Regions from separate parts of the Homo sapiens genome. Here all the other regions are linked to region 1. The links are contacts of gene promoters, found by promoter capture Hi-C in blood cells and fetal thymus (Javierre and others, 2016). All regions are on one chromosome and are shown on one strand. The core of a region is centred on a gene start or on the middle of the fragment in contact, and the rest is flanking DNA. Distances in the headings are between cores, read along the strand shown. Region 1 holds the start of BCL9 (BCL9 transcription coactivator). Region 2 overlaps ACP6 (acid phosphatase 6, lysophosphatidic). Region 3 overlaps ACP6 (acid phosphatase 6, lysophosphatidic). Region 4 overlaps BCL9 (BCL9 transcription coactivator).

Region 1 (7,931 bases), core at 4,024-6,523:
GAAACAGCTGAAATAACAGGGGCTTTGGGTCAAACAGAACCAGGTTTGAGACCCTTATAGTTATGAACTGTGTGACCCTGGACAAAGTACTTAACCTCAGCAAGCCTGTAAAATGAGAACAAATATAACATCTAACATTTGTTCATTACTTTTTATGTACTGGGCACTATGCTAATTATGTCACATGCATTCATTATCTCATTTTGTCCTCAAAATAATCCCGTGAGGAAAGTACTATTAATATCCTCATTTTACAGATGAAGAAATTGAAGCTCAGAAAGGTTGAGTAACTTGTCCAAAGTCACAGAGTAGCAGAGCCTGTAACTCAATGTCATGTCTGTCTGGCTCTAGAGACCAAGTACATAAACACCACTAGTAGTACTCCCAATAGTAGTACTCCCCTTATAGGGTGAATTGCAAGGATTAAATGAGATAATGCATGTAAGGCACATGCCTAGCACATAGCGCTGTTATTCTTACTAAACATTATTATATATTACTAGCTAAAATTTGTATAGCACTTTACTGCTTGTAAAGCTCATTTACATAGTAACTCATTGGAAACTGTCTCAGAAAAGTTAAAAGACTTGGTCAAGGTCATTTAGCTTGTAAGCACACTAATATCAGAACCTGGATCTTTTAATTCCAAAACGAGCCATTTTACCTTGGCTTTTAATCACTGGGGAGTGCTATGTTTTTCTATAGTTATTATTAGTAAGAGGTAGCTATTTTCAGATTAGGTGAGTTCTAATCTTGCCAGCCTCTAAATTGCTCCTTTATCTGGTAAATCTTGAAATCTGTTTCTTGATTTTCTGCTCGATTCTCTCCTTTATGTCAGATAATTCACCTTTCCAGAAATGTGGAGAAGTCTCATTTGTCCCACTCCTACATTCTTTTCCACAGTTAAATATATACATGTAGGTAGATGTCAAATTATGAATGGGCTATAGTTTGTAAGGTTATTTTGTAAGTTGGTTGTTTAGAAATCTGAGCATTTCTCCCATGTTTTGAATGAACATTAAGTCCCATAGGGAACCCATAGGAACCTATTATGAGCCTGTGCCAGATGCAGGAAAAGGGAGAGGGAATGTGGAGAATTATGAAGCTCCTTCAATTCATTCTGGGCTGGGCTAGATAAAAGTTTTGAAAGTCTTTGCTTTTCACATCTTCTCACCTCCTACAGCTTGTCTTGTTTCCTAGTGTCCCTTCTCTTTCTACTGCCCTGTACAGCCCCCAAATCAGGCCTGCCGTACACCAAGGAGTCTTCTAAGTTACAAAACTATCTACCTGCTCCTACTATTGTTTTCCTCTTCTCCCTCTACTCTAAATGGCTGTTTGATATGATATAGGAATTTGTAGAAAAGTAGGCTAATGAAATAATTCATGCTAAAGTAGGAAAGGCTGACTTCCCTTATCCCTTCTAGAGGTGTTTACATTTTAAAAAAATTATTAATAATGCAAGTGAATTTGTAATTGGTGAGAGCTGTAGCAGTGAAACAAAATAAAGTGAAAAATGGATATTATGTAGAAGGCATTTTGGAAGAGGTGTGTTGCAATCTGGGTAGAACAGCCCAGATAGGGTCTAATTCTTGTTCCATTCCTTAAACCCCCTCCAGCGCATTTACACACATACATGCCAAACACACCTCATCAGTTACCTTGGCTTCTAGTCTTTTTCTTTTCTTTTTTTTTTTTTTTTTTTTGGAGACAGAGTCTTGCTCTGTCACCCAGGCTGGAGTGCAATGGTGTGATCTCAGCTCACTGCAAGCTCTGCCTCCCGGGTTCACACCGTTCTCCTGCCTCAGCCTCCCCAGCAGCTGGGACTACAGGCGCCCGCCGCCATGCCCGGCTAATTTTTTTGTATTTTTAGTAGAGACGGGGTTTCACCGTGTTAGCCAAGATGGTCTCCGTCTCCTGACCTCGTGATCCGCCCACCTTGGCCTCCCAAAGTGCTGGAATTACAGGCGTGAGCCACCGCGCCCAGTCTGGCTTCTAGTCTTTTCCTCATCAACCAGATAACTATTAGCATGATAGCATTTCAGAACTGGAAAGGGTTTTAGAGCTAATGTCATTAGCTTATTTTATAATTGAGGAAATAGGGTTCAGATAGCAAGGCTCGTGCTCACAGTTCTTCTGCCTAAGAATCTAGGACATTTTCATCTATACTCCATGCTTAGCTTTCATAAGTCTTGTAAAATAAACTTAGAAATGCTCATGCATTGACCTTGTTCACTTATCCACTTGGAATTTCTTTTTTCTCTTTGGAGTTGGCAGGTGGAAGCCATCAGTGCTGGAGGCAAGATAGTCTGACCTGGTGTTCTTACCAACATGTTCTGGCCTGGAGGCCTGGCATTCTCTGTCCTCTGCCAAGTGGAGGAATTGGAAAATTAAAGGTTGTTTGGGGGCCTGGGCACATGCTTTCTTTTTCTTTAACTACTTATAGGAGATATCATGAGATTTAAAAATGCATGTGAAAGTGTTAGGATCATGATTGCCTCTTTCTTCTTTCTCTCATTGAGCATTTGTATTTTCACTCTAACAATTGGAACAAGTCTTTTTGCTGCCTTAGCAGTACAGCATAGTGGTGGGGATCCTGGTCTCTAGAAAGGCAGACCACCTGGGGCCATATCTCAGCCACTACTTCCTGGCTGGATTACCTTAACACGCTCCTTCACTTCTGTGCCTCAGCTCCTTCATCTAGAAAATAGACACACTGATAGTTTACACTGTATGGGGTTGTTTAATATATGGAAATTCTTAATAAATGTTAGTTGCTGTCATCACCATTATCATCAATATCTATGGGCCTTTTTAGTTTGCTTTTTTATTTAAAAAAATTTTTTATACTTAAGAAAGGGAAGCTTTTCTGGTCTTAGCTGCCTTTCTCTATTGCCTAGCAATCTGAAAATAGTGCAGTCATTGAAGGTTAAGTCGACCCTTTATGCAATTCTTGCCTGGGAGGCCTCATTGTGTATAGTGAGTCACCACCACTTAGAAGTGGACAGTGAGTCAGTAGCCTATTAAGGGGAGGTCAGAAGTTCCCCTGGCTCAAAATGAAAGGATCCAAACCCAACCCTGGGGTACAGAAAAAACAGTGTACTTATATGGCTGACTGGACTTGAAGTGCCATGGAGTACCTGGACTACTCCAGTGAGAAGGCATAATATGGCGGGTAAACGCTGGGGCTTTAGAATCACACAGGCCTCAGTTGGATTTCAGCTCTACCTCTGCCTTGCTGTGTGACCTCAGACAAGTTGCTTAACCTCTCTGTGCCTCGTTTTTCTATCATCTGTAAATGGAAATGATCATAACAAAAATTACTTCATGATACAAATGAGTGGGAAAATGCTAAGAATCAAGTAAATACTTAAAAAAAGGTTATTATTATTATTATTATATTACCACATCATCATCATTAATGGGAGTCGGGACAGACAGTTCAGGGATCAGGGATAATGGAGGAGCAAATTAAGGGGGAAAATAACAGGAACAAGTCTGTGTCTTTGATGTGGTGAGTTTTAGGTAGTGACACCTCATTTAGCTGGTGTTAAGTATGAAAGAAGTCATAATTTATTCTTTACTGCATACCTATGAAGGAATGAGTGATGTGTGTTCTCATAATTTCCATTTTGTAAAGGAAGATTCTGAGGAATAGAGTCTAAACAATCTTCATGAAAAAGTACAGAACTGATTCAGCAGCAGTTAGGAGCTAAGCTTCCATTCAGATCCTGTTGCATAGGGATAACTCTTCTGGCCTAGGCAGAGGAGACCTTGTTAGGTCTGTGAGTCCACAGTATCTAAAAATATGAATGTCATATAATCATCCTGTCATTCTTCTTCCTGATCTCAATTGGCCCTCCTGATTTCATGCCATCTGCAAATTTGCACATCCTTTGTGCTCCTTTTTGCTCACATTTTATGCCTTCTTTTACCATCTCATTTACTCTGCATGTTTCAATCTTTCTGGGCTTCCATTTTTCTTCTTTTTTTAATGCAGTGTTGTTTCTCTCTCTCTCTCTCTCTCTCTCTCTCTCTCTCCACTCCTTTACAGCCCCCACCTCCTCCCTCCACACCAATCAAATTCCTGCTTGTTTCTTGCCATATTCATTATCCTACCTCATTCCCCTCTTATTCCTAGAAAACAGCACACTCACCCTCCCCTCCTCCAACTCTCAGGCCCACCCTCCATAAATTCCAGCAGCCTGGCAATCAGTAACTTTAGCATCACACTTCACAGCTCTCCTAGTTTACACTACTTGTTACTACTCTCCTTGCTACTGCTCTCTAGGGTTTCTGCTAAAATAAAAAATAAAAAAAAATAAAAAAAGCTTCACTTTAAAAATATCTTGGGTACAAGTTGAACCTACAGTTAAGTTTACTCACACATTTACACATTTCATGATTTTATTTTAACTAGTAGCTCAAGTCCATGCTCAATTATGCAGTGAAAGAAGGCTAGATCCTTAGGAAACAAATTTTTCTCTATTGTAAAGAAGAAAAATCACCTAACCACTCAACAGAAACCCCAGTCCTGGGGCCACTCACCCTCTTATCTCCCTACTCCCCCAATCTCCAGCTAATGGGACTTTGCTTTTTCCTTTGTCGGGTCATTTATTTCACTTTTCCTGGCGCTGAGATGGCCTGAGTCTGTGTATGTGTGCACACGTGTGTGGCCACTGCTTTTCTTCCAAAGGACTCACCTCTCTTCTGCCATTTTACTAGGACACAGGAGGCGGCTCTCTGCTCTCGCTCTCCCTCTCTTTTTCTCCCTGCCCCCAACTCAGCCTGGGCTTTTTCCTGTCTCTTAACTCCACCAGTGCAGCAGCAACTAGCTGAGCTGCTTGAGAGAGAGAGAGAAGAGAGAGAGAGAGAAGAGAGAGAGAGAGAGAGAGGAGAGAGAGAGAGAGAGAGAGAGAGAGAGAGAGAGAGAGAGAGAGAGAGAGAGAGAGAGTGTGTGTGTGTGTGTGTGTGTGTGTGTGTGTGTGTGTGTGTGTGCCTGCGTGCGCAGCTAGGCCAAGCCTGCGAGCCTGCCTGTCACTGGAGAGTTTTAGTTTGCATTCAGAAGAAAGGAGGAGGGGAGACAAGAGGGGAGGAGGAAAAGGTGGAGGGGGGAGGAGTGGGGGGGCGCAGAGAAGGGAGGGAGAATGTCTTGTTTGTGGCTTGTCAGCAATTGCTTGAGACAAGCTTCCATGTGTGAAAGCTACTTGGCATGAATGCCTGGGCCGTACCAAGTGTCACCGCAGCAAGAGGGGGAGTCAGAAGAAAAACAGATCAGACCAGAGCAGACAATAGGCCCCTAAAGTGTTCCCCCTAAGTTGCTTTGATGTTGTCCTGGTGTCTTGATACCAGGAGGCCAGGGATTGCGGGAAAAGGGTCTTTTTTGTCTTCATTCACTTTCCCCCCTCAGTTTCTGAAATGATTCTCCAGAATTTCTCCTCATAAAAAAGGTAAGAGCCCTAACAATTCCTTCTTCGGTGGCAGGCTTGTTCGCCTGTGCCTGGAAGTGGGGGTCTCATTCCTGCGCTGCTCTGGAGGAGCGCTGGGGTCCTGCGATTGGAGCTCCTGCGTTGCCCCTGGAAGTCTTTCAAGGCATCCAGGACTGGGGATGGCCCCTCTTTCGAGGGAACCCCAGTAACACGATCTGTGCCTCTGGGTTGGTGGGGGAGAAGGGGTGGATGGAGAGGGCTGGGAGGAGGGTGTGAGGGTGGGAGGGAAAAGAGAGAGAGAGAGGGAGCGCGAGAGAGGGAAGCCTGGAAAAGAGGGAGAGAAGGGCAGAGCCTTGGTTCAGGGAAACCCCAGCCCAGAGCCCAGGGAGGCCTTGCAGGCTCCGAGCTGTGCATTCTCAGGCTGAGCAAGGGCCGGCCAGGGCTCCGCCGAGTGACTGCAGAGATTGCATCGAGCTTTGTGTGTGCCAGTGTGCCCGTGGGTCTGTGTGTGCGTGTGGACTTCCCACACACTGCCCTGGCGTGCCTCGCTGTGAAGGGGAGGCACCCCGATCCTTACCACCCCAGCCCAGACTCTCCGAGGAGGAGCGGCATGGCAGGCAAGAAGGGAGAGCAAGAGAACTCTGCCACAAGACGATCCAGAAACTTTTCCAGTCTCAGGGATTCCTCTGGTCGTAGAGACTGTTGAGTTGTGGGGTGCCCCGTGCCTCAATTTCCCCATCTGTAAAATCAAGGTTGCTGATCAGGGATGCTGTATGCCTCCCTGGGATTGAGCGAAACAGAACAGATCACTGTGTCTGAAACGCGTGGAGAAATCGTCAGCTAGAGATGCTGTGGAATCACAGAGTAGAAGTGTTATCATTATTCTTGATCATCATCATCAGGGTAATAAAAACATCATTAAAGACACCCTGAGACAAATAGACTGAGGAGCACAGATCAAGTGTCTGAGCATTTCTAAGGAAACAAAAAGCCTTGTTCCACCTGTTGGCTTCTGTCCTTTTTCTCTTGTGTCTTTTCGTTAGATTTATTGGCCGATTTGTACAGAGAATGGGGTGGGAGGGGTTGGGTTTTCCCCTTTCCTCCTCCTTGTACGTATTTTTGTTTTAAAGAAGGTCAATGTAAGATGCTTGAGCGAGAAAATGTGCCTCCTGGTATAGTAGTTTATTCAAGACCTTGTGTTTTCTGGGGCTGGCAGGGCATGCAGACGCATCTGTAAACTCTACCTTGGAGGTTAAAGATTTTTATTGTGGCTTTTAGAGATTAAATGAGATTTATTTACAATTGCTGTTTATCAGAGAGTAAATATCTTACTGTGTGTGTACGAGGCTAAGAATGTGAAGGCTGTTTACTCGCCGGTGGTTTTGTGGATAAAACCTTTTGCTTTTTCAAGTGACATCTTGAGGGATGGAACAGAGGGCTAAAATCAGTGCCTAACATTCATCTTAACAATTTTTTTTGAGGAAAAAAAATGTCTGCTTATTTTCTTGAATTGTGGATTTCCTTTCTTCTGTTCCTACACATTGATTGTTTAAAGGCTCTCAGTTGTAGCTCTCTCTGAATTCTCTGGAGGAGTTCTGCTTTCTTACCTAATTCTAGGTTTTCTGTGACTCTGCTACTTGTCCAAAAAAATCTGTAAAAGTCTAGGAGGCTGTGCCTCCTTCCATTCTAACTGCAAATGTTTATCAGACTGACTCCCTGTGATAGCTGGAGATTGAAGCAAAGGGCCAGCCCTGGCTGAGAATATTTATGTGCTTTTCACAGAGGCCTGGAAACCTGACTTCTGAGTATGGGAAAAGCTGAAGGAAAGCCATTAGTTGGCCTGGATCTGGCAAGAAGGTCCCCCTACATTTAAGGTTTTATTAAAATAAAGCTGTATTTTATGCATATATATATCTGAAAACTTAGTTGTTTTCTACTTTATAGTCAGAGATCTTACCATGGTTGTTCCTGACAAGATTTCAGGGTCCAGATATCTTCCTAAAATGTTAGAATTTAAGAACTGCAAGGAAAAAGAAGTGTTATTCCATCATGTTATAGATGAGGATGTTAAGGTCCAAGAGAGATAAGCACTGATCTGAGGCGGGTGCAACAAAGCTGTGGTAACATCTAGACCACACCCTGGGGTTCAGAGTACCCCAAGGGTCTTCATGCCGGGTACCCTTACCTCACACCCACATTTGATTTTACAAACTCCAGCACTTGGCCAACCAAAGAGAGGCACCTTTTGTAGTTCTGCTTGCTGTGCTGGATTACAGCAGCACACTCTGCCCTGCTCATGTCATCAAATGGTACAAATATGCAAACATGGGTCCACAACATGAATTTGCATAAATTCATTCATGTATTCATTTGTTCATTCAACTTATATTTTGGGGCTCTTTACTCTGCAGCAGGCAAATACTGGGCACTGAGGATATAGGAAGAGAAAGGCAGATATACCCCTGCCCTCAGGGAACTTACAGTCTTGTTGGTATGATCAACATT
Region 2 (7,931 bases), core at 3,283-5,782, 120 kb after region 1:
TTAGTGCCTGTGACAAACTCCTCCCTTTCACCTGCACAATCCATCTATCCATAGCCAACTAATTAATCTTTTTGGAAAAAATATTTTTATTGCATTTAAATATTTTGTTTTATTTTTAATTGACAAATAATTGTATATTGTATATATTTATGGAGTACAATGTGATGTTTTCATATATATTTACATTTGATATATGATTAACTAATGTAAACAAAATCCATCAGCTCACATACTTTCATTTTTACGTGATGAAAATATGTAAAGTTAACCTTTTAGTAACATAGGCATACATCATTTTATTGCTCTTTACAGAGATTGCATTTTTCACAAATTGAAGGTTTGGAGAACTCTGCATTGAGCAAGTCTATCAGTGCCATTTTTCCAACAGCATGTGCTCATTCATGTCTCTGTGTAAAATCTGGTAATTCTCATAATATTCCAAACTTTTTCATTACTATTAAATCTGTCAAGGTGATCTATGATTTATGATTTGTTTTTCTTTTTGAAATGGGGTCTGGCTCTGTTGCCCAGGCTGGAGTACAGTGGCATGATCTTGGCTCACTGAAACGTCTGCCTCCTGGAGTGCAGTGGCATTACCTTGGCTCATCCTCTCACCTCAGCCTCCCGAGCAGCTGGGACTACAGGCATATACCATCATGCCCAGCTAATTTTTTTTTTTTGAGAGACAGGGTTTTGCCATGTTTCCCAGGCTGATCCTGAACTCTGTGATCTTTGATGTTACTATTTTAACTATTTGGGAGCGCCACAAACCGCCCCCATATAAGATGCCAAACTTAATCAATAAATGTTGTGTGTTTTCTGAGTGCTCTGCTGACTGGTATTTCCCCCATCTCTCTCCCTCTCCTTGAGCCTCCTTATTTCCTGAGACACAACAATATTAAAATTAGTCCAGTTAATAACCCTACAATGGCCTCTAAGTGTTAAGTGAAAGGAAAAGTTTCAAGTTTCTCACTTTAAATCCAAAGCTAGAAATGATTAAGCTTAGTAAGGAAGGCATGTAGAAAGCTAAGATAAGCCAAAACCTATGCCTCTTGCACCAAACAGCCAAGTTATGAATGCAAAGGAAAAGTTCTTGGAGGAAATTAAAAGTACTACTCTGGTGAACACACAAACAATGAGAAAGTGAAACAACCTTATTGATAACATGGAGATATTCAATGCAGAAGAAACAGCCTATATAGGAAGAAGATCCCAGCTAAGACTTTCATAGCTAGAGAGAAAGTCAATGCCTGGCTTCAAAGCTTCAAAGGACAGGCTGATTCTCATTAGGGATTAATGCAGCTGGTTTCCTTAAGGTGAAGCCAAGGCTCATTTACTATTCTGCAAATCCTACAGCCCTTAAGAATTATGCTAAATGTACTCTGACTGTGCTGTATAAATGGAACAACAAAGCCTGCATGGCAGGACATCTGTTTACAGCATGGTCTACTTAATATTTTAAGCCCACTGTTGAGACCTACTGCTCAAAAGAAAAAATTGATTCCTTTCCAAATATTACTGCTCATTGACAATGCACCTAGTCACCCAAAGGCGCTAATGGAGATGTACAAAATTAATATTGTTTTTGTGCCTGCTAACACAATGTCCTTTCTGCAGCCCATGGCCCAAGGAGTAATTTTGACTTTCAAGTCTTTATTATTTAAGAAATACATTTTGTAAGGCTATTGTTGCCCTAGATAGTGATTCCTCTGATGAATCTGGGCAAAGTAAATTGAAAACCTTATGGAAAGAATTCACCATTCTAGATGTCATTAAGAACATTTATAAGGAGGAGGTCAAAATAGCAACATTAAGCGAAGTTTGGAAGATTTGACTCCAACCCTCATGGATGACTTTGAAGATTCAGGCTTCCGTGGAAGAAGTAACTGCAGATGTGATGGAAATAGCAAGAGAACTAGAATTAGATGTGGAACCTTAAGTTCTGACTGAATTGCTGCAATCTCATGATAAAACTTGAATGCATGAGAAGTTACTACAAAGAAGTGGTTCCTTGAGAGGGAATCTAGTCCTGGTGAAGATAGTGTGAACACTGTTGAAATTACAACAATGGATTTATTACATAAACTTAATTGATAAAGCAGTGGCAGAGTTTGAGAAGATTGACTCCAATTTCAAAAGATGTTCTATTGTGGGTAAAATGCTATTAAACTGTGTCATAAGCTACAGAGAAATCTTTCATGAAAGGAAGAGTCTATCAATGTGGCAAACTTTACTGTTGTCTTATTTTTAGAAATTGCCACAGCCACCCCAACCTTTAGCAACTACTACCCTGATCAGTCAGCAGCCATCAACATCAAGGCAAGACCCTCCACTGGCAAAAAGATCATGACTCACTGAAGGCTCAGGTAATCACTAGCACTTTTTAGGAATAAAACATTTTTAAATTAAGGTATGTACATTTTTAGACATGCTATTGCATGATAGGATACAGAAGAGTGTAAACACAACTTTTATATGCACTGGGAAACAAAAAACAACTGTGGGTCTCACTTTATTGCGATATTTGCTTTATTGTGGTGGTCTAGACCTGAATCTGCAATATCTTCAAGGTATGCTTGTCTGTGTAGAATCTAAAGAAGTCAAAGTCACAGAATTAGAGAGTAGAGTGATGGTTATCAGAGGTGGGGGGGTGCAGTAAATGGGGAAAGAGAGATTTTTATCAATGGGTACAAAATTTCAGTTACACAGGAAGAATAAGCTTTAGTGATCTATTGTACAGGATGGTGACTACAATAAATAATAATGCATTGTATGTTTCAAAATCACCTAATTAATCTTGCTAAGCCAGTGTCATCATATCAGTAACTTTTTCCTAATGTCTCAGAGGAAAGCATCTGTCCTTCAAGAACTTCTACATCGTGGCTGAGTGCAGTGGCTCATACCTGTAATCCTAGCACTTTGGGAGGCTGAGGTGGGAGCATCACTTGAGGCCAGGAGTTCAAGATCAGCCTGGGCAACACAGCAAGACCCCATCTCTTAAAAAAATTTTAAAAAAGGACTTCTACCCCCTTTGTCCAGCCCCTGTACTCAGCTTCACTGCCTCTTTCCTCCCCTCCAACCTAGAACCTGCCCACTGTTTCTGCATCTTCTTCCAGCTTGCTTCTCTTGCTTGGAGGGACTCCTGTTCCTATCTGCCCATCACCTTGTCTTCAATGTTCAAGGATAGCTCAAGTCTTACTTCCCTATCACTGACCACTCTGGCTTTTGATGGTTATCTTTTAAATCTGAATTCCTATAACATTGATAACAAAAAAAATTTAACTCAATTTCCTACTACTTTGTTTAGTTTTAAAACTAACATTTGGAAACCTACTATGTCACATATCGTCATATTTATCTTCTACCCTCCCCGAACTATCCCAGGAGAATGGTACTGGGAGCCTCAGATTCTCTTGGCATCTAGGGAGCCCTCCATTCTTCCCAAAGGCATGTGTCAGTCCCACTGGCACCTGGTCTCCAACACCTGAACCTCCTTCTGACACATCAGAGGACCAGGTGTTCACAGAGAGGCCTTCTTCCTTCTTTCACAGTTAATCACTGCTCCCTCTTTCTGACCCTCTAACCCCTCTGGATAAAAAAAACCCTTCGAGGGTTCATGGCTCATGTGGCCCCACCTCCTCTCTAGCAGCCCCCTTACCACTTCTTCCCTATTCTACATACTTACTCACTAGCCACGCAACTTCCTTTCCTTTCTCATATTTCATGGCCTTTCAGTATCATGTTTCTTATGCCTGGAATTTTCTCTCCTCATTCATTTAGAAAGACTTTTGTTCATTCCTTAAGACTTAGCTTAAGTGTTCCCAGAAACCTTGGTCATGGCCTTATGCTTTCACAGTAGCTTCAGTGGCTCTCTTTAGTAGCCTTTACCAAAGTGTATTAAACGAGCTCCTTTACTGGTCTGTCCTGGCTTCCTGAGAACAGAGACTCGGTCATCTATTGACTTCTGTTTCCCAGCAAAGGGCCTCACACACAGTAGGTACAATTAATAGCTCCAACAATTTGCCAGCTCCTGTGGAAGATACCCATCTTGAGAAAACTTGACCCTGCCTTTCCTGGGTGTTCAAGTTAGTAAAGAAAAAAGGCCAGCTGTGAATGTAAATGACAGCAATACCATAATAGAAGCTGACATGTGCTGCAAGAAACCATATGAAGGCCATAGCAGTTCAAAGGCAAGACAGACCTTCTCTTCTGGCTGGGGATTCAGGAGAAGTTTCATTGAGGGAATAGCATTTTAAATGAATAGTATTTAGACAAGCAAATACCTGTACTTATAAAGGGTGACATTCAGAATTCCAAAAATAACTAGAAAGCTTGCGCAAAGCAGAGATGGTAAAGAATGTGTATGGCAAAGAAGTGGTTTGGTTTGCCTCAACCTGGGAATGGTTTTCCAATTTTTAAATCAGAAAATACCACATAAAGTTTAACTTTAGATTTGTATGTATAAAGGCAAAAACTCGAATTTCTCTAGTTGAAGTAGGAGGGAATCCCACAGCCCCAGCCGCTCAACATCCTCTTAGCCCACAGGCTCCACAGAATAAATCTGAAACCTGGCAGCATACATCACAATTGGAATGGGAAGACTAGATGCAGAAAAGCCCATTTTGAGATGTTAGCAATAGTCCACATGAGAGCCTAAGGCCTCATCTAAGCCAGTTAACAATAGAGGAGGTAGATGTAAGACATTTGAGTTAGACTTGGCAAGTGAGTAAATAAAAGCTTTATGTGGGGACTGTGTTGGTAGGTAAACACAGAAGAACAAAAAAGAGACTACTTTGATTTTTGAGCCTTGTAATGGAGATATTCCTTGACTAAAACTAAGACCAAGACAGAAAAACAGGTGGAAAGCTGATTTCAGTTTTGGACATTTGGAGACACCTCCTTTGTGTTCCCAGTGCTCCCAGCATATTGCCTTAATTGATATCTGTTGTCTCTGCTTTATCACATTGAAACTCCTTTAAAGGCAAGACTGAATTATCCATCCTTGTAGTTCCAGTGTCCACCACAGGGCCTGACACAAAGCTCCACAGGGCCATTCAGCCTCACTAAGAAATCTGTTAGGCACATTCACCAAGAGAGGACCCTTGGCGTCTCCTAGGAGTCTGGAGTCCAGGTCACGTCAAGTCTAAAGTACAGTTTTCAGATTTTCAAGAATGGATGATACATCAGTTTCATATAATAGTGTCCACCCCACATACACACTCTCATTCTCATTCCTGCTCTTAAGCTTCCCAGTTAGTGGCAAAGACTAACTTGATAATTTTACTTATTTTGTGTATACCCCTCTTCAAGGGGTAATAAAGTAGATATAGCAAAAATTAAAATATAGTAAGACAACCAATTCAAAGTAGGCAAGAAAGACAAAAGCAAACAAATGTAGGGACAAAGAAATGGATGCAGTAACACGGTTACTAAAATATGTACACCATGAAGATCTGTTTACTTACTATAGGTGGGCCACAGACTTGGCACCCAGCTTCCTGACTTTTACATAAAGAAACAAACTTGATCAGCTAGACTAGTTTAAAGAAAAAAGCAAGCCAATTGTTCAGGAGAAGCACACCATTCCTAATGCTAACAGACAAATTCCTCCCAAGGGTCCTCATAAAGAGGATAGAGTAATATAATGAACATCTTTTCAGCAGTCACAGCAATGAGTTCTGTGGGATTGTTTCTCCTAGTTCTCTCAACACAGAAAGATAACCTCTTACCAAAGCACATTTCAGCGAAGGCAATTCTGTACTGGGATTGATATACTACATTCCAGGTAAAAGAACAAATCTACATAAAAGTAAACAAAAACCTCCCAGGTGTAGATTTTAAAATAAAGCAATCATATTAAACCTTGTCTGTATACTGGTATTACCAGGACATTTTTTAAAAGTTACTGATGCCTGAGTCCCAACCTGGGATAACCGCATTTGGATTATCCCCCAAAAAAGTGGGGCCTCCACTTTTTTAATGCTCTTCAGTCCAGATAATTCTCAAGCTTCACCAGAGAGTCTTTTACATTATCTGGATACCCCGGACCAATTAAATTAGAATCCTTCGGAGGGAGACCCTGGCATGTGTATTTTTTAAAGCTTTCCAGTTGACTCCAATGTTCACCACGGTTAAGAACCATCGATCCTGAAGAATGGGTGGACCTCATGTAATGCTTCTTGAATACCGCTTCTTTTAGCTGAGTTTTGGAAAGGTACTAAGCAATAAAAGATTCTTACATTATGCTTCCCAGCTCATCTATATTGTCAAATAAATAGGGACCCAAATGTCTTAATCAACAGTGAAGCTGGGGTAGGTTGGACTTTATTTTATAAAAACTGAGGAATCTCCCTGGGTGGAGGCCATCTTGACACCCAGGGGAGTTGAGGGAAGCCTGGAAGCAGTGCCAAATCTTTTCTTTTGATAGTGCATTTGGATCTGCTCTAATGATCAGGAAAAAAAATGGCCAATCAAGTTCTATATTTTTATTTCCAAAGCACAATCTTTTAGCAAAACAGGTTAAACCAACAGCCATTCAAGCCATAAGAAAACAACCCAATAAAACACTAGTTTTTTGTTTTTGTTTTTGAGATGGAGTCTTGCTCTATCACCCAGGGTAGAGTGCAGTGACCCAATCTTGGCTCACTGCAACCTCCGCCTCCCGGGTTCAAGCAATTCTCCTGCCTCAGCCTCCCGAGTAGCTGGGATTACAGGCGCCCACCACCACACCGGGCTAATTTTTGTATTTTTAGTAGAGATGGGGTTTCACCATTTTGGCCGGGCTGATCTCGAACTCCTGACCTCTTGATCCACCTGCCTCAGCCTCCCAAAGTGCTGGGATTACAGGCATGAGCCACCACACCCAGCCAAAACATCTAGTTTTAAATCATGCTACTTTCTGAGAATTTGTGAGATGGCTGAATGAAGTGACTTGTCACATATATTAATCTATAAACCAGTCAGAAATCAGGAAACATGTACCAAAGACAAAAAATTTTTGCCAGGCAGTCCCTTCTGACTATAATTAATAGCAGAACCAAGAAGATTAAAAAATCCCAATAACGGCCGGGTGCTGGCTCACGCCTGTAATCCCAGCACTTTGGGAGACTTGAAGCAGGCGGATCATGAGATCAAGATATCGAGACCATCCTGGCCAACATGATGAAACCTCGTCTCTAGTAAAAATACAAAAATTAGTCGGGCCTGGTGGTGTGCACCTATAGTCTCAGCTACTCGGGAGGCTGAGGCAAGAGAATTGCTTAAACCCGAGAGGCGGAGGTTGCGGTGAGCCGAGATCGCGTCACTGCACTCCAGCCTTGCAACAGAACAAGATTCTGTCTCAAAAAAAAAAATCCCAATAACAACCTCTATCAAATTGGATCTTGAAATGAACACTGGACAGAGACTATCCAGAAACAAGTTTTAAGAGGCTAATATTTGCTCATAGCCTAAATTGAAAGAGAGTTGGTTCACCCCTGATTTTCATGCACACAACTTTATACTAGAGAGCCGAAGACGTTTAAAGCATCTGTCTAAAGTCTGGAGAATATGAGCAGAAAGGAGAGGTAATATGCCTTCTCTAATTGCAAAGTCAGGCCATGGATTCAGATGCTATTTTGTGGCTACACAGATTGAAGATGAATGAAGCTGGTATCCTAAGCTACAACGGACCTTTCAACCATAAAGGCAGAAGATATCCATCACACACCCACTCTCCCTTAGGGATAAAGCCCTAAAAGAATCTAAATCTTTTCCTAGTGCCTTCAGGATATATATATATATATATATGGTACATACTAGGTCTAGGCCTACACATTCAAAGTTTTACTCTCCATTACCACTGATAATTTTTTGTCTTCTACGTGAATATAATATATATTCCTACATGTGATTCCCCAGTCCTTCTGTACCAAGAATAAATAGAGAAGAAT
Region 3 (7,931 bases), core at 2,422-4,921, 100 kb after region 1:
TATGTCTTCAGTAAATGTGGCCAGTCTGCACCCTGTATCTTTACTCAGTTGTATTTTATGCAAATCTTTGAAAAAAACGTGTCCAACAGGGCAAAGGCCTATCATACAACATGGAACACTTCCCTGAAGAACAGCTGACCACTGAATTAGTTTCTTTATTAATTCAGCAAATTCATTCAGTAAGTACAAATTGAGTCCCTACTACATGCCAGGTTATGATCTACAGATAGCATCCAGCATGTTCACTGCATACAGCAGTGAACCAACCAGACAAGGTTCCTGCTTTTTGCAGAGAAGGTTACAAGGGATAATAAACACTTAAAAACAAATAATCGCTAATATTGTTTAGCTTGCCTATGTGCCAGCCATTGTTCTAAATGCTTTATGTGTTTATTCCTCACAAAGCCTTATGAGGTAAATACTCTTCTTGTTCCCATTTTATAGATTAAAATGCAGAGAAGTTGTCACTTGCTCAAGGTCATATGGATCCTAAAGGATGGAGCATCAACCTGGGTAGTCTATCTGTAGAGCCTGTGTGTTTAACCACTGGGCTTCTACTGTGTCTCTGTAGAAATAAACACTCAATTAAATATATATGTATATACATATATTCCCATGTGAGAGAGGGTGATATTTAAGCTGAGATCTAAAATGACAAGAGGCAGCCAACTCCTTGAGATCTAGCGGGAGAGCAAAAGGGAGTGTGGTGGAGGATGAGGCTGGAGAGGTGGGCAGGGGGCCTATTCCATGAGGCCTTGTATACCAGGGATTGGGGCTCCAGTAATTTAACCAGTGGTGAACATGCCTAGTTGCTTCAGTATCCAGCCCATACATACCCATCTTGTCCACAAATATACTGCGAACAATTTCCTTTCCTGATCCCCATACATGATCAAAGGACATTCCCTTTATACTCCAAACCATTACCTTCCAGTCTTCACCATCAGTGTGGCACAGAAAAATACACTGGTTTTTGCTTTTGTTTTTGTTTTTTTGAGACAGAGTCTTGCTCTGTCACCCAGGCTAGAGTGCAGTGGCACGAACACGGGCCACCACAGCCTTGACTTCCCACGCCCAAGTGATCCTCCCACCTCAGCCTCATGAGTAGCTGAGACTACAGGCACTTGCCACCACGTAAAGCTGAATTTTAAATTTTTTGTAGAGATGAGGTTTTGCCATGTTGCTCAGGCTAGCCTCGAACCCCTGGGCTCAAGCGATCCTCTGACCTCAGCCTCTCAGAGTGCTAGGATTACAGGTGTGAGCCACCTGGCCAAGATGTACAATCGCAGTTCAGAATCCATTAAATCTCCATGGTGCTATATGACCTTGGCCAAGCCACAGGCTCTCTGATCTTCAGTTTCCAGGGATATTTCCCCATTGTTCCATAATGTTACCTTACTCCTAGAACTGAACCCCTGAGGTATTCAGCATTTTGGAATTTTTGACCTAGAGAACAACCATTCCTTCAACCTTTCCCCTTCCTGATCTCTTCCATTCTTCTCTGTGCAAGGCCCAGGTAAGCTGTGCCTACCTTTATGCAGCTGGCTTCAGTTACTAACAGCTCCAGGGACTGCTCTCTCATCTCCCAAAAGCCCTGCTGGTTTGACCCCATCAAGTTCTACTTACCCAAGTGTTATACAACCCTCCCCTTAATTACACACTCAATCAGTTCCTCCCAAGCTCAGCAATTTGTGGTCTCTGGGCATCCCCCAGCTGCTTTTCCGGAGGTAGCTCCCAGGCTGGGTCCTGGCAAGCCTCTGAAGCACTGCTTGGGTTTTTAAGGCCATGGTACCCAGAGTTGAAAGCCTTGCTGTTATTTCACACTCTATTTCCTTCCAAATTAATTCTCTGATGAATACTGTCCTTTGCAGTGATTCAGTGCAGGCCATTTCCTTACATCTTTCCCCTACCTTTGAGACTTTTAATCTCTCTCAAATCCAGATTTTCCTTTGTGAAAGGCTTGCCTCAGAGAAAAATGCCCTGCTTTCCTACCAATATAAACAGCTCTACCAACACTGGCCCCAGCCTCCCGGCACACTCCCTTTACTGCTTGACTTAGCTATTCCTTTGATTTCAAAGCACACATACTTGCCTTCTCTAAAAATCTCTGTACAACACAGAGCAACTCAAACTTCTTGGCTTACAGTAAGCTGCTGGACCCTAGTTTCCTTAAGCCCCAAATACAAGAAGATGCAGGTTCAAAACTTGTATCTGAGGAGGTAGCACCTTCCATACCCTTTCACATGGTTATTTTGCTTACATCCCCCTCCCCTAACCCCAGCAGATAGTATCACCATCCTTCCATGTGGATAAACAGAAACTCTGCCATGCTAAAGGAGTTGCCCAAGGTCACAGGGCCCAGGAAAGTGGTAAAACTGGAATCCAAATCCCTGGCTCTTATCTCCAAGGTAGGTGCTTCTTTCAGCATCCTTCATGTGGCTTAAACACCCCTGAAACAGCCTAGTCTTCAGCCACCAAGATCTTACCACCCAGGGGCAAGCCATCTAGGTCCGCAGGCACCCACTGCCCACAGCCCTGAGGAATGCTCCGGAGGAGCCACAAAGAGGCTCCTCTGGCATAGCAGGAGCAATGGCTTATATTTGTATAACACTTTTCATATTAGGAAGTGCTTTCCATACCTAATCTATGTCATTCCTAGGATAATTCCATGAGGGAGATGCTATATTAGAGTCCCATTGCACAAATAAAGATATACAGGCTTATCAACAGGAAATTAATGGACTTGCCCAAAGTCACACAGGTAGTAGGTACAGGGCAGGACTTGAACTCAGAGCACATGACTCCAAGATCAGTGGTCTCTTGAGTTCTCAGACATGGTGACTGTGGGCCACTGCCCCCCTCCCAATTTCTTCAGGAAAAGGTACATTTTATTTAAAGGCCAAACGGAGAGCGGAATCCTGAGAAGACCAGCTTTTTACTGGGGAAAGTGTTTTTCAGTTCTCCCCAGCCAGCCTTAGACAGGGGTCAGGTTTCTAGAGGCTGGCAGGGTGGACTGGGAAGGGCCGGGCTGCAAAGTCCCCTTGGCCACTAGAGGGCAGGGTCTGAAGAGAGCACACAGCCATCTCCCCGGGGAATTCCCCACCCAGCAGAAGAGACTCATCGCTGCCTAGCAGCCCCAGGACACGCTCTAGCCCAAAGCCGAAGAATGATCCCTTCCTGGCATGTTGTAGACAGGGTAGGTGCCCTTAGCCCACCCCTCCCCCCACAGCCCGCCCAGCCTCCTCTGCAGGTAGATGGCGGTGCCCTAGAGGATTCCAGCTGAGGAAAAGGGGTGCCAGGTGCCACTGACAAAGACCTGAGTTTCCTACAATGAAAATAAACAGGTCAGCACTCCAGGTCCCGGTGCTTCGAGGACTAGGGGAGGGTGGGACGGGAACTCTCTCCTCCTCCCTCTTCAGTTGGGCCCTTCAGGGTTTCTGTCCCCTTGCTGCAGTTTTTAACGATCCACGTGGAACTAACTGTTACAGGGGAATAGGCACATGGCAGTGAAGGGTCTTGTCTAATGACAGTCCTTCATCCCAGGGCCTGCCAGAGCCAAGAGCTCTGTAAGATAAGCCACGAGGCCCTCGGGAAGAGCTATCAGGGGAGCCGCAGATGAAGTCGGCCTTCCCTGGCAAGCCTGGCTCTCCTCCGTCCTGGGAAGCCTTTCACTTTGCCATACACGGGTGAGAGCCTCCTGTGGGAATTCTTTAAACCTCAACAGCACTCTGAGGCCCCTTAGAGAAAGGAGTCAAGGCAGGGACAGGTTAGGAATTTATGAAGAGCTTTTCACACCCTATTTTCCATCCTCAGGACAAATCATCAGGTAGATAAACATTAACTTCCCCGCTTTATAGTTGGGAAAATGGAAGCTCAGAGAAATTAAGTGACATGCCCACAGTCACACAACTGGTGAGTGAGGGAGCCAGGGTTCTGTACAAATCTCCTGCACACACAGGCACAGTGCCCCGGGAAGGGCAGGCGGAGGCGGGGCGCTGCCTGCAGAGGAGCATCCCCAAAGGCTCCCTTGGCTTGCGAAACCTACCACAGTTAAGAATCTCGTGGGAAGTGAGATGAAAGAGAAAAGGGAAAATAAGAATACTTGAAGGCACTTATACGTTTCCTTAATTGATTCTCACAACAACCCTAATTAGTACGTATCATTATGCCCATTTTTACATGAGAGGAAAAACAGGCTCAGAAACACCCGTCCAAGCGTTGCAAGGAAATAAATACGCTGTCAGAATTTGAACCCAGCGAAAGCCTTGGTGTTTTCCTTTACTCCATGCTTCCCCCTGGTGGTGAGTGGAAGGAGAGTGCATAGAAGCCACCTGGGTGCCAACAGAAGAGTTAAGTCAGCGTTCTGAACTCATTTATTCATTCGGTAAATCTTTGCTGAGGTCCACTTTGTACAGTCTCTGCACTTGGTTCTAGAAATACAATAAAAGACAAGACAAACAACCTTCTATTGAAGGACAAACAGAAACACGGGAGGCCTAGAGATAATTGGATTACACAGGAAAAGGGAGTGTGGGTCAGGGGTCAGGTGATGGAAAAATGTGTGCCAAGGTAAAGAGGCCAGAGGAGTGCGATTTCCTTTTTTTTTAAACATACTATAGGTCTGGCTAGGGAGATATGTGAGGGGTGAAGCTGGAGAGGTATGCAGGGGCCAGGTCTCAGGGGGTGATGGAAAGCAAGTGAGGGTATGGCCCATTAGGAAGCCACTGTGGTAACCTAGGAGGGTGGCCTTGGGCCCCGGAGAGAAGTGACAGAGGGGATATGTCATTCAAATGTCCAAGTGTCTGAGCACTGGCATGCACTAGGCACTATTCCAGGTGCTGGGGACACATCAGTGAACAAGAGGAAATCTGCCTTCATGGAGCTTCCATTTTAGTCAGGGAAATAAGCATATAGATACACAAATATGTAATATCCGGCACTGATAAATATCACAGGGCGGGGGAAAGACAAGACAAGTGTATTCATTTGCTAGGGCCTGCCGTAGCAAAGTATCACAGACTAGGTGGCTTAAACAACAGAAATTTATTTCCTCACAGTGCTAGAGGCTAGAAGTCCAAGATCGTGGTGTCAGCAGCATTGGTTTCTTCTGAGGCCTCTCTCCTTGACTTGCAGATAGTCATCTTCCCTCTGTGTCTGTGTCCTCATTTCCTCTTCTTATAAGGATTCCAGTCATATTGGATTACAGCCTACCCATATGACCTCATTTACTTTACCTCTTAAAAGGCCCTATCTCCAAATACATTACACCTGAGGTACATTCAGTCCTCAACATCATTGATAGGTTCTTGGAAACTGTAGCTTTAAGTAAAACAACATATTAGAGAACCAACTGTTTTGCTCATCAGTGTTACAAGGCAACGATGTTGAACAAAACACAATGTTATTCAAGGACCTGCTATATGTCCTTTCACTGAAAGCCGACATTTCCAAGAGCCTATTGATAGCATCAAGTGAGGACTTACTGTACTAGGGGTTAAGATGTCAACATATGGATTTAGGGGGGACACAATTCAGCCCATGACAGAAGGTGGCAGAGTATACCTAAGGCAGGAGGTAGAAGGAGGGCAAGGAGGGCCTCTCTGAGATGACAATGAGCTGAGATCTGAATGAAAAGAGGGAGCTAGCCACGCAAATGTCTAGGAGAGCATTCCAGGCACAGGAACAACAGGTGCTCACCCCGAGGTGAGGACATGGCTCAGGACTACTTGGCATACTCCATCTTCAACGATAGTAAGAATGGGATGGGATGATGGGAAAAAGGGAGATGTTAGTCAAAATGTACAAAGTTTCAGTTAAACAGTAGAAATAAGTTTTTGTGATCTAGTGCACAGCATGGTGACCATAGTTCATAACAGTATACTGTTGTCTTAGTCCATTTTGTGTTGCTATAACAGAATACCACAGATGGGGTAATTTGTAATGAACAGAAATTTATTATCTCACAGTTCTGGAAGCTGAGAAGTCCAAGATCAAGGCACCAGAAGGTTAGGGCCTGGTCTCTCTGCTTCAAAGATGGTGCCTGTTGCTGCATCCTCCAGAGAGGAGGAACACTTTGTCATCATATGGCAGAAAAGCAAAAGAGAAGGAACCCATTCCTGCAAGCCCTTTTTATAATGGCATTAATCCATTAAACATCCCCATTAGGCTCCACCTCCCAGTAACATTGTACTGGGCACTAAGTGTCAACATCAAATTTAGAGAAGACAAAAGCACTCAAACCACAGCGACTGTACACCTGAAAACTACTAAAGAGTATATCTGAAACATTTTCACCACAAGAAAGTGATGAGTAGATGAAGTGATGAATATGTTAATTAGCTTGATTTAATCATTCCCTCATGCATACATATATCAAAACATCACATTGTACTCCATAAATATACGCAATTATTATCTGTCAACTAAAAAGAAAGTAAAAAGTTTTTATTACAAAAAAGAAGAAGAATGGTAAGATGGCGAGTATGGCTGGGGTGCAGTGAGATGTCATAGGACCGTGAGGGCATTATGACTGGCCCTTAGTTTGAGATGAGAAACCAATGGGGAATTTAGAGCAGAAGAGTGGCACGATCTTACTTTGTTTTAAAAGCAACACTGTGTTGAGAATAGATGGGCAGAGAAGGGAAGGGCAGAAACAGGAAGACTAGTTACGAGGCCTTTACAATAATCCAGGTAAAAGATGACACTGGGACTAAGACAGTAGCAATGGAAGTATTGGGACATGGTCAATTCTGGATATAGTTTGAAGAGAGATACAACAGGAGTTACTGATGTAGTAGAGGTAGGATATGAGAAAAAGAGGGGAGTCAAGGGCAGTTCTAAAGTTCTTGGCCAAAGCAACAGGGTGAATGGTGGTGTCATTTACCTAGATGGGAAAGCCTGTGGAAGGAGTAAGTTTGAAAAGGCACGGAAATTGAGAGTTTATTGTGGACAATGGGAAGTTTGATACCTATTGTATATCTTAAACATCCAAATAGAGACATTGATTAGACTGTTGGAAATGAGACTGGGATTCACAGGGAAAGGTCTAGGTTGAAGGTATAAATTTAGGAGACATTGTGTAAATATTTAAAACTGGAAATTCTTTTTTTTTTTTTGAGATGTTATTTCTCTCTTGTTGCCCAGGCTGGAGTGCAATGGCACGATCTTGGCTCAGCACAACCTCTGCCTCCTAGGTTGAAGTGATTCTCCTGCCTCAGCCTCCCAAGTAGCTGGGATTACAGGCACATTGTACTCCATAAATAGACACATACAGCCTTCCGAGTAGCTGGGATTACATCACATTGTACTCCATAAATATAATAATTTTATAAAATTATAATAATTTTATAAAAATATAATAATTTTTGTATTTTTAGTAGAGGCAGGTTTAGTGGAGACAGGGTTTTGCCATGTTGGCCAGGCTGGTCTCGAACTCCTGGCCTCAGGTGATCTGCCTGCCTTGGCCTCCCAAAGTGCTGGGATTACAGGCGTGAGCCACCGCGCCCGGCCTCAAACTGGAAATTCTTGAGATCACCTAGTGGGTGAGTGTAGGGGAAAAGGTGGAAAAAAGGTCCAAGGAGTAAGCCCTGGGACACCCCAACACTTACGGATTAGAAAAAGGTAGATTCAGCAGGAACAAAGTCGAGAAATTGGAGGAAAACCAAGAAAGCATTTGTCGAAGCCAGTGAAGGAAATAGTCTAGGAATACTGATGAGAAGCTTAGTAAGAAGAATGAAAACTGGCTATTGGATTCACCACACAAAGGCTATTGATGATTTTGACAAGAGCAGTTTCCATGGAGTGGTGGGGGTGAATACTTAATTGTAGCTGGTTCATGAGAGAACTGGAAGGGAAGAATTAGAGGTAGCAACTCTTTTGAGGAGTTCTGCTATGAAGGGGAGAAGGAAAAGAGAACAGCAGTTCAAAGATGC
Region 4 (7,931 bases), core at 2,059-4,558, 74 kb after region 1:
ACTCGGTGAGCCTGTCCCGTTTGTGACTGCAAGCTCAGGATTTCAATCAATGCATTCCAGTAACCCTAAAGTGAGGAGCTCTCCATCAGGAAACACACAGAGGTAAGGGCTGGGCTGGGGCCTCTTCCTGCAGCCCCTTGGGGATGCCATAGGCACATCATGAACACTCATTGGTGAAACAGTATGTTGAATTAGAAATAAATGAAACCCAAATGGGAAAGGAAGAGAAAATAGACTAGTAAATAGTAATATAACAGTAAGCAGGATACAGTGTAATCAAAGCTTATGTTAGAGTTTTCCTTTGTTATTCTTTTGTCCATCATTCCCTGACCTCTCCCCGCACCTCCCTGCCAAAGCACAAACGAAAGGACCATAGAGACCAACCAGTACAGTTTGCCTAAGTTTGCAAACAAGGAAACTGAGGCCTGGAATGGTGAGGAAGCCTAATGTCGTAGAACTAAAACGTTATTCCCCGGACTCCCACTGTGACACTTTTTCCTCGGTTTCACAGTAGTTAAATTGTTACTTTAAAAGAATTTTGTCCTCACTCCCTGAGGGCAGTGGTTGGTTTATCTGCTTTGGTGTAATACTGCTTGTTGGGAGGGATTAGTATCCTGGAGGATTTCCCTAACCTGACAGTCACCAGCTCCCGTGCTCTTTGGGACCAGCTTGCATTTTCCAGCAGGGAAGTGAGGCTCTCCTACAGCTGTTCCTTGTCATCAGCCTGGGGGTGGGTAGTATTTTGATCTTAACGATGCCTGTTTGTTTACTCTGAGCTAGTCTTAGTGTAAGAGTCACCTCTCTATGTACATAGAAACCGTTGTCCTTTATTGACAGAAGCCCTGGAGATGGGTCCCCATGTGACTGTAGGGTTCCTGAAACCTGGCAGGCCACTCTGCTTGATCCTCCTCTCTGTTGATAGCTCTGAGATGGGATCAGGGGTGGCGGGAGCAAGCAAATGGCTGAGGTGAATCATGGGGTGGTTATTTTAGTCCTAAGGGTCTCCTTGACCCCCAATAGAAACTGCCTCTCTCTAATTTGTGCTGACCAGCTGTATCTGGTGTCTGATCTTCCTTTGTTATTTGTTTCTTTTAGTAGCCCTAAGTCAAAGCAGGAGGTGATGGTCCGTCCCCCTACAGTGATGTCCCCATCTGGAAACCCCCAGCTGGATTCCAAATTCTCCAATCAGGGTAAACAGGGGGGCTCAGCCAGCCAATCCCAGCCATCCCCCTGTGACTCCAAGAGTGGGGGCCATACCCCTAAAGCACTCCCTGGCCCAGGTGGGAGCATGGGGCTGAAGAATGGGGCTGGAAATGGTGCCAAGGGCAAGGGGAAAAGGGAGCGAAGTATTTCCGCCGACTCCTTTGATCAGAGAGATCCTGGGACTCCAAACGATGACTCTGACATTAAAGGTATGTCTATAAGATCTTTGAGACTCAGAGGGAAGTAGGTGTTCCTGAGGGAAGGCCTCTGACATTCGACAGAGGCCAGAGAGCCTAATATCAGACAAGTGGGGAGAGTAGGTATCAGATTCATGAGTTCTCACAGTTTATGATGGAACTATTTCTTCTCATTTTGTTACTAACTGAAGAATTGTTTGGAACCTCCTAGTTGAGGAGTTCTTGCCCTTAAGGATGCAACGGTTTAGGGGTTATGGTAGGATGTTTCACAGGCCTATCCCTGTTCGTACACGTTTCTGGCCTCTATGCTGTTTGTACTTTAGTTTCAAGCCAGTAGCTCTAGTTTGTCTGTGCCAGTGGCCCCCACTGGGGTAGTTTTTCTGGTATCCCCTTCTCTTCTCCATCAGAGCAATCCTCCAAGGCTTGGGTCTTGTGTTCTCTAGTTGCCATTTTGCCAGACTTCAGACACAAGAGGAAGCCTTAATGGCCCTGGCAGTAGTCCAGATTTGTTACAGCTGATTTTAGTGTAGCAGGAATGAGTGGCTACCAGATGTGTAGAGATTTGGCAGGCACCAAAATGGAGTGAGCCAAGAAGGGTATGGGACCAACAGCTGTGGTTTTAGGCTTTTTCCTCCTAGTATAAGACCAAAAGTCTTAACTGTAGGCCAGAACATGAAGTTAGTATTCAAGGAATGGAAGTATGATTTTCCAACCCAAATTAGAAATGGAAACTTGGGTGATTGTTTCTCCCCTCCTTCCTCCCCTCCTCCCTCAAGTGTTTTGGCAGGCCTGCTATGAGTGCCAGCACTATGCTGGGGGGCCATGGTCAGCAAGATAGATACAGCTGTTGTCCTCAAAGATTTGAATGCACCTAGAAAGCTGATTATTAGACAGTTACAGTAAAATATGATAAATGCTGAAATAAGAGAAGTTAGAGGGCTGTGAGATCCATCCCCAGTTAAGTCTAGGAGGTTTCAAAAAGGTTACCAGAAGAAGGGACATTTACACTAATATATGAAGGAGGTGTAATAGAGAGGTAAGGAAGCTGGGGAAGACTGCTTTATGGTTAGTCATTTGAGAGAGAAGAGTATTTGAAATTTTATAAGTAGAAGAGGTTTCCTCTTAGCAAGGTGGTACTTCCTTGAAATTCTCAAGGTGGGTTTGTGTTGTGATGCTATATATGCTGGCAGAAGAAAGGAAATTTTATTCTTTCTGTGACGAGTCATTTTATTCTTTTAGAATGTAATTCTGCTGACCACATAAAGTCCCAGGATTCCCAGCACACACCACACTCGATGACCCCATCAAATGCTACAGCCCCCAGGTCTTCTACCCCCTCCCATGGCCAAACTACTGCCACAGAGCCCACACCTGCTCAGAAGACTCCAGCCAAAGTGGTGTACGTGTTTTCTACTGAGATGGCCAATAAGTAAGTTGATGGCTGTGTCTTGCTGTTGGGCAGGGCTTGTCTGGGGACCTAAATTCTTATTCCCATTGCAGATTGATCTTTTATTATCACCTAAAGTTAACAGTACAGATAAAACATAAAACCTCCCCAACCCAAACTCCCCCAGAGGCAACCACTGATAATACATCCTTTGCTTCCCTTTCAGAAATTTTTCGTGCTTGTACAAATATACATATATATCTCTTTTTCTTTTTTTTTTTTTGAGATGGTGTCTGTCTCTGTCGCCTAGGCTGGAGTGCAGTGGCAGATCTCGGCCCACTGCAACCTCCACCTCCTGGGATCAAGCAATTCATCTGCCTCAGCCTCTTGATTAGCTGGGATTACAGGAACCCGTCACTACACCCAGCTAATTTTTTGTATTTTTTAGTAGAGATGGGGTTTCACCATGTTGGCGAGGCTGGTCTTGAACTCCTGGCCTCAGGTGATCTGCCTGCCTCAGCCTCCCAAAATGATGGGATTACAGGCATGAGCCACCGCGCCTGGCCATATATACCTCTTTTAAACAGAAGAAGTTGATTGCACAATACACACTTTTCTGCAACCTACCTATTATTATTTTCTAAACAACACAAGTAACAAATGTCCATTCTAGAATAATTAGAAAGTATAACTAAAAATTAATATCTCTGGAATTCACAGAGATAACTACTGTAAACATTTTTATATATAAATTTTTAGTGGATGGATGCATCAATTTTTATTTATCAGAATTGTGATTATACCCTACATATATGGTTTTCTGACTTTTTTTCCACTTAAGATAAAAAGTGAATCTTAACAGCCTTAAACTATCACTAGGTATTGTACGATCTCATCTTCCCCCTTCTTGGGTTGGGATTTTGAACTCGGATTCTCTATAAAACACCTACCACAGCGGATTAGTTTCAGGAGAAAATCTTGGTTTTTGTCTTTTAATGCCTCTTTTGGGATTTGCTAATGGCTGTCTTTTAATTTTAGAAGTTTGATGATAAGTGGTAAATATAAATAATGAAACATGTTTGTCTTGATTTCTTCTTCAACATTTCTGGTGGTTCTTTCTATTCCTTCCTCTCCCTTACAAGTTTATTGTGTGGTTAAAGTGCTTTGGAATTACAGTTAGTGAAATAGAAACAAGTTCTAGTGTGTGCTGTCTCTTCCATCTTTGCAGAGCTGCAGAAGCTGTTTTGAAGGGCCAGGTTGAAACTATCGTCTCTTTCCACATCCAGAACATTTCTAACAACAAGACAGAGAGAAGCACAGCGCCTCTGGTATGTTGTTTCAGAAACTGAGTAATGGTTTAATGATTCTACAGTGACTGCAAAGGAAAGGAGGTGGTGAATTTAATTGATAGGAAGGTAGTCTTGATGGCATGAGTTGCATTCTTGGCATTTAACCTAATTCTGGCATTGTGGGGCATTAGGCATATCATACTATACTAGCCTTTTCTACGAGAAAGCTGGTAGATTGATGAATTACTAGGGGGAAGAAGATGCAAACTAAAAGAGGAGCTATACAGATATCTTTGGGTTTCCTTCATGTAATCGTCTCTGGGAAAATCTAAATTCAGACCCTGTGTACAGAGCAGGTTTTTTAAAAATAACACTCTTGAGCTAGTTGAATAACAAAGAAAGAACAGAAAAAAAGCAACAATTAAAACTTCTAGAGTACATGATGACAGTATCATAATCAGAGCCTCATCGACTTTCAGAGTGATTCATATTTATTTCAAAGTGATAAGACCATTGAATGTTTTTAATTGCTTGATATTTGTAAAATTGTAATAAATGTTAGTCTGTTTTCTATCTGGATCTTAAGCACCTGCTATAAACTCCATTAGAAAAAGCATACAGTGGCCGGGCGTGGTGGCTCATGCCTGTAATCCCAGCACTTTGGGAGGCCGAGGCAGGCGGATCACAAGGTCAGGAGATTGAGACCATCCTGGCTAACCCAGTGAAACCCCGTCTTTACTAAAAATACAAAAAATTAGCCGGGCATGCTGGCGGGTGCCTGTAGTCCAAGCTACTTGGGAGGCTGAGGCAGGAGAATGGCCTGAACCTGGGAGGCGGAGCTTGCAGTGAGCCGAGATTGTGCCACTGCACTGCACTCCAGCCTGGGTGATAAGAGTGAGACTCTGTCTCAAAAAAAAAAAGCATACAGTGGATGTTTTAATGCATGTAGTTTACCAAATTGAACCAAAAGATACTTCTTGTATCTGGCATCGTCAAGCCATTGCACCAAATGCTATGGGGGATACTAAGAAGTTCAAGACACAGTCCCTGCTTTCAGGGAGCATGAAATCTAATACTGGGATGAGTCTTAAACATGGGAAAAGTTAATTGACAATAAATGATCAAAGTGACAATTCAAGATAAAATAGGTGACATCTTTCCTATTTTGTGTATCAGAAAAGTCTCCATCTTTGTAGACATAAGCAGAGCTTAGGCCTTCCTAAACTTAGAAAAGGAATTTCATATTCCCCATGCATCTTGACTACTCAAGGGTAGAAGATGCATACAGTTATATTTAAAATGCTTATTGTCCTGGAATGAATATAGTACAGTGTAACTGAAACCAACCTTTTATTGACTTAATGGCAGTTCTTAATACCTACACCTTAATACCTACACCTACACCTTCTCTGGTACTAAAATCAGGAAAGGAGTTAAGGAAGGAATTGGGAATAATCCATTGTTCCACATCTAAATGTTTTCTGACGTCATGGTTTCGTTATATGAAATCAGTATCCACCCACAACAAACAAAACCTGACCAACAAAACCAAACTTAAAATGGCACTAGAAGGAAAATCAAGGTGACCTCTACACTCCAGTTAGGAGTGTGGATATGAAATATACTTTTAACTGTACAGAATCATACAAGATTCAGCTGATCTTACCCACACAACTCTTTACCTATAGGCAGAAGTGCATGGATACCTCAAAATCCAACATTTATATATATATTCACAGAATATAAGTGCTCAAAGATATGTTTTCATGTGTATACAACACAAATTGTTCATATGCAGAGATACACGTAATTATTTGTTTACATATTTGCACACAGGTAAACATTCCAGAGAGTAGGTGAGGAGGTAAGAGCCTGAAGGGTTTGGAAATACAGACTGGATTAAGCGAACAAGTAGGAGCAAATGAACACGGAAAAAAGGGTCTGGAGAAAGGCCTTTGGTGAAAGGTCTCTGAGACAGGGTTTGTAGATCAAGTCCTTCTGTTCATCAGTGCCCTCTTATATTTCAGCAGTGCTCTTGGTTTAGACCCAGAACATACACATCTCTCTTCCAAACATTCAAGGTGTCCATGTCACCTATTGTAGGTGAGTGTGCTTCTACCCTGGACTTAGTATAGCAGTGGTACTTAATAAACAATAATAAGGCAATCATCCAGCATATTAAAAAAGGGCAGTCTACTGCCTATTGGAAAGAACAGTTCAAGAGACACCATGAGCTAGATAGCCTCAGATTTCTCCACAGAAGCTTCCTGCCTGCAGATTATCTCACTACAGTTAATGTACAAATTCTTATCAAATGTGGAATCAGTGATCACCAACCAAAAACGGAAACCAGAGATGTCAGGCCTCCTGGAAACTCCAGGAGGGGAGTGCCTCAGTAGTCACCCTGCCAGAGGAGACGTTGAAATGGAGCAGCTGCTTCCTCGGCTGGTAGAATACAGAGCTGCAAGTGACTTACGCTTTCTCTCTCAAGATGGCAACATCAGGCCTTTTGATTGACAATGAGAAGTCTACATACCCAGTTATACTTTCAGGGAAAAGAAAAAGGTGTTAGGTACAGCCTCCCACATACCAAGAAACTAATCTCTCTCTGAATCAGAAACACATAGTAGACATGTGATATCAAACCTGTTCCTCAAAATAGATACTGAAATGTATTCACTTTGGCAGAGTGGCTCTCCCCTGGCATACTTTTAAAGTTATTGAAACCTAATCTTCAGCAAGGGAAAGAGGATACCATTTGACAGTAAGTTTAAAAAAAAAAAAATCAAAATGTCTCCATGCCCAAAAGAGGGTTGTACGTGAGCAATTTCTACAGCCAGTGTCAGTTAGATTTATGTGCCTGGGGACAATTCCTTTATAACATATCTTGCTCTTTTAATTGCCCTTCTGTTCAGTTTACTAATGATTTTTAAACTATTTGTTTGTCTTCAGAACACACAGATATCTGCCCTTCGGAATGATCCGAAACCTCTCCCACAACAGCCCCCAGCTCCGGCCAACCAGGACCAGAATTCTTCCCAGAATACCAGACTGCAGCCAACTCCACCCATTCCGGCACCAGCACCCAAGCCTGCCGCACCCCCACGTCCCCTGGACCGGGAGAGTCCTGGGGTAGAAAACAAACTGATTCCTTCTGTAGGAAGTCCTGCCAGCTCCACTCCACTGCCCCCAGATGGTACTGGGCCCAACTCAACTCCCAACAATAGGGCAGTGACCCCTGTCTCCCAGGGGAGCAATAGCTCTTCAGCAGATCCCAAAGCCCCTCCGCCTCCACCAGTGTCCAGTGGCGAGCCCCCCACACTGGGAGAGAATCCCGATGGCCTATCTCAGGAGCAGCTGGAGCACCGGGAGCGCTCCTTACAAACTCTCAGAGATATCCAGCGCATGCTTTTTCCTGATGAGAAAGAATTCACAGGAGCACAAAGTGGGGGACCGCAGCAGAATCCTGGGGTATTAGATGGGCCTCAGAAAAAACCAGAAGGGCCAATACAGGCCATGATGGCCCAATCCCAAAGCCTAGGTAAGGGACCTGGGCCCCGGACAGACGTGGGAGCTCCATTTGGCCCTCAAGGACATAGAGATGTACCCTTTTCTCCAGATGAAATGGTTCCACCTTCTATGAACTCCCAGTCTGGGACCATAGGACCCGACCACCTTGACCATATGACTCCCGAGCAGATAGCGTGGCTGAAACTGCAGCAGGAGTTTTATGAAGAGAAGAGGAGGAAGCAGGAACAAGTGGTTGTCCAGCAGTGTTCCCTCCAGGACATGATGGTCCATCAGCACGGGCCTCGGGGAGTGGTCCGAGGACCCCCCCCTCCATACCAGATGACC

What was found. The method cuts DNA at HindIII sites, captures the fragments that hold promoters and counts their contacts. A CHiCAGO score of 5 or more calls a contact.
Region 2: a contact is called between a fragment that was not itself captured here and the fragment with the promoter of BCL9 in region 1, in 6 of 17 cell types (fetal thymus, non-activated CD4 T cells, activated CD4 T cells and 3 more). The highest score is 11.0, in fetal thymus.
Region 3: a fragment that was not itself captured here is called in contact with the fragment with the promoter of BCL9 in region 1 in 10 of 17 cell types (fetal thymus, activated CD4 T cells, total CD4 T cells and 7 more); the score reaches 15.8 in fetal thymus.
Region 4: a contact is called between a fragment that was not itself captured here and the fragment with the promoter of BCL9 in region 1, in 12 of 17 cell types (fetal thymus, activated CD4 T cells, total CD4 T cells and 9 more). The highest score is 28.9, in fetal thymus.

Annotation. Positions count from the first base shown.
Region 1 is chr1:147,536,228-147,544,158 of GRCh38, forward strand. It overlaps BCL9 (BCL9 transcription coactivator), which reads left to right and starts at 5,274. Exons shown (of 10, transcript NM_004326.4): 1 at 5,274-5,447. RefSeq lists enhancers at 4,932-5,226, 4,945-5,699, 5,260-5,319. The HindIII fragment of the contact is 5,169 bases long and covers 5,183-7,931 here.
Region 2 is chr1:147,660,648-147,668,578 of GRCh38, forward strand. The region is part of intron 1 of ACP6 (acid phosphatase 6, lysophosphatidic); the gene reads right to left. Among named protein-coding and RNA genes, the nearest start is that of ACP6, 5.9 kb to the right of the region's middle. The HindIII fragment of the contact is 406 bases long and covers 4,330-4,735 here.
Region 3 is chr1:147,637,880-147,645,810 of GRCh38, forward strand. It overlaps ACP6 (acid phosphatase 6, lysophosphatidic), which reads right to left. Exons shown (of 10, transcript NM_016361.5): 10 at 4,351-7,931. Among named protein-coding and RNA genes, the nearest start is that of ACP6, 29 kb to the right of the region's middle. RefSeq lists an enhancer at 3,475-3,976. The HindIII fragment of the contact is 8,089 bases long and covers 1-7,716 here.
Region 4 is chr1:147,611,788-147,619,718 of GRCh38, forward strand. BCL9 (BCL9 transcription coactivator) reads left to right here. Exons shown (of 10, transcript NM_004326.4): 4 at 1-102; 5 at 1,096-1,412; 6 at 2,640-2,829; 7 at 4,016-4,115; 8 at 7,029-7,931. The coding sequence starts at 50. It overlaps LOC128071544, which reads left to right. Exons shown (of 1, transcript NM_001414892.1): 1 at 1-9. The coding sequence ends at 9. Among named protein-coding and RNA genes, the nearest start is that of ACP6, 55 kb to the right of the region's middle. RefSeq lists enhancers at 643-937, 7,644-7,931. The HindIII fragment of the contact is 6,057 bases long and covers 281-6,337 here.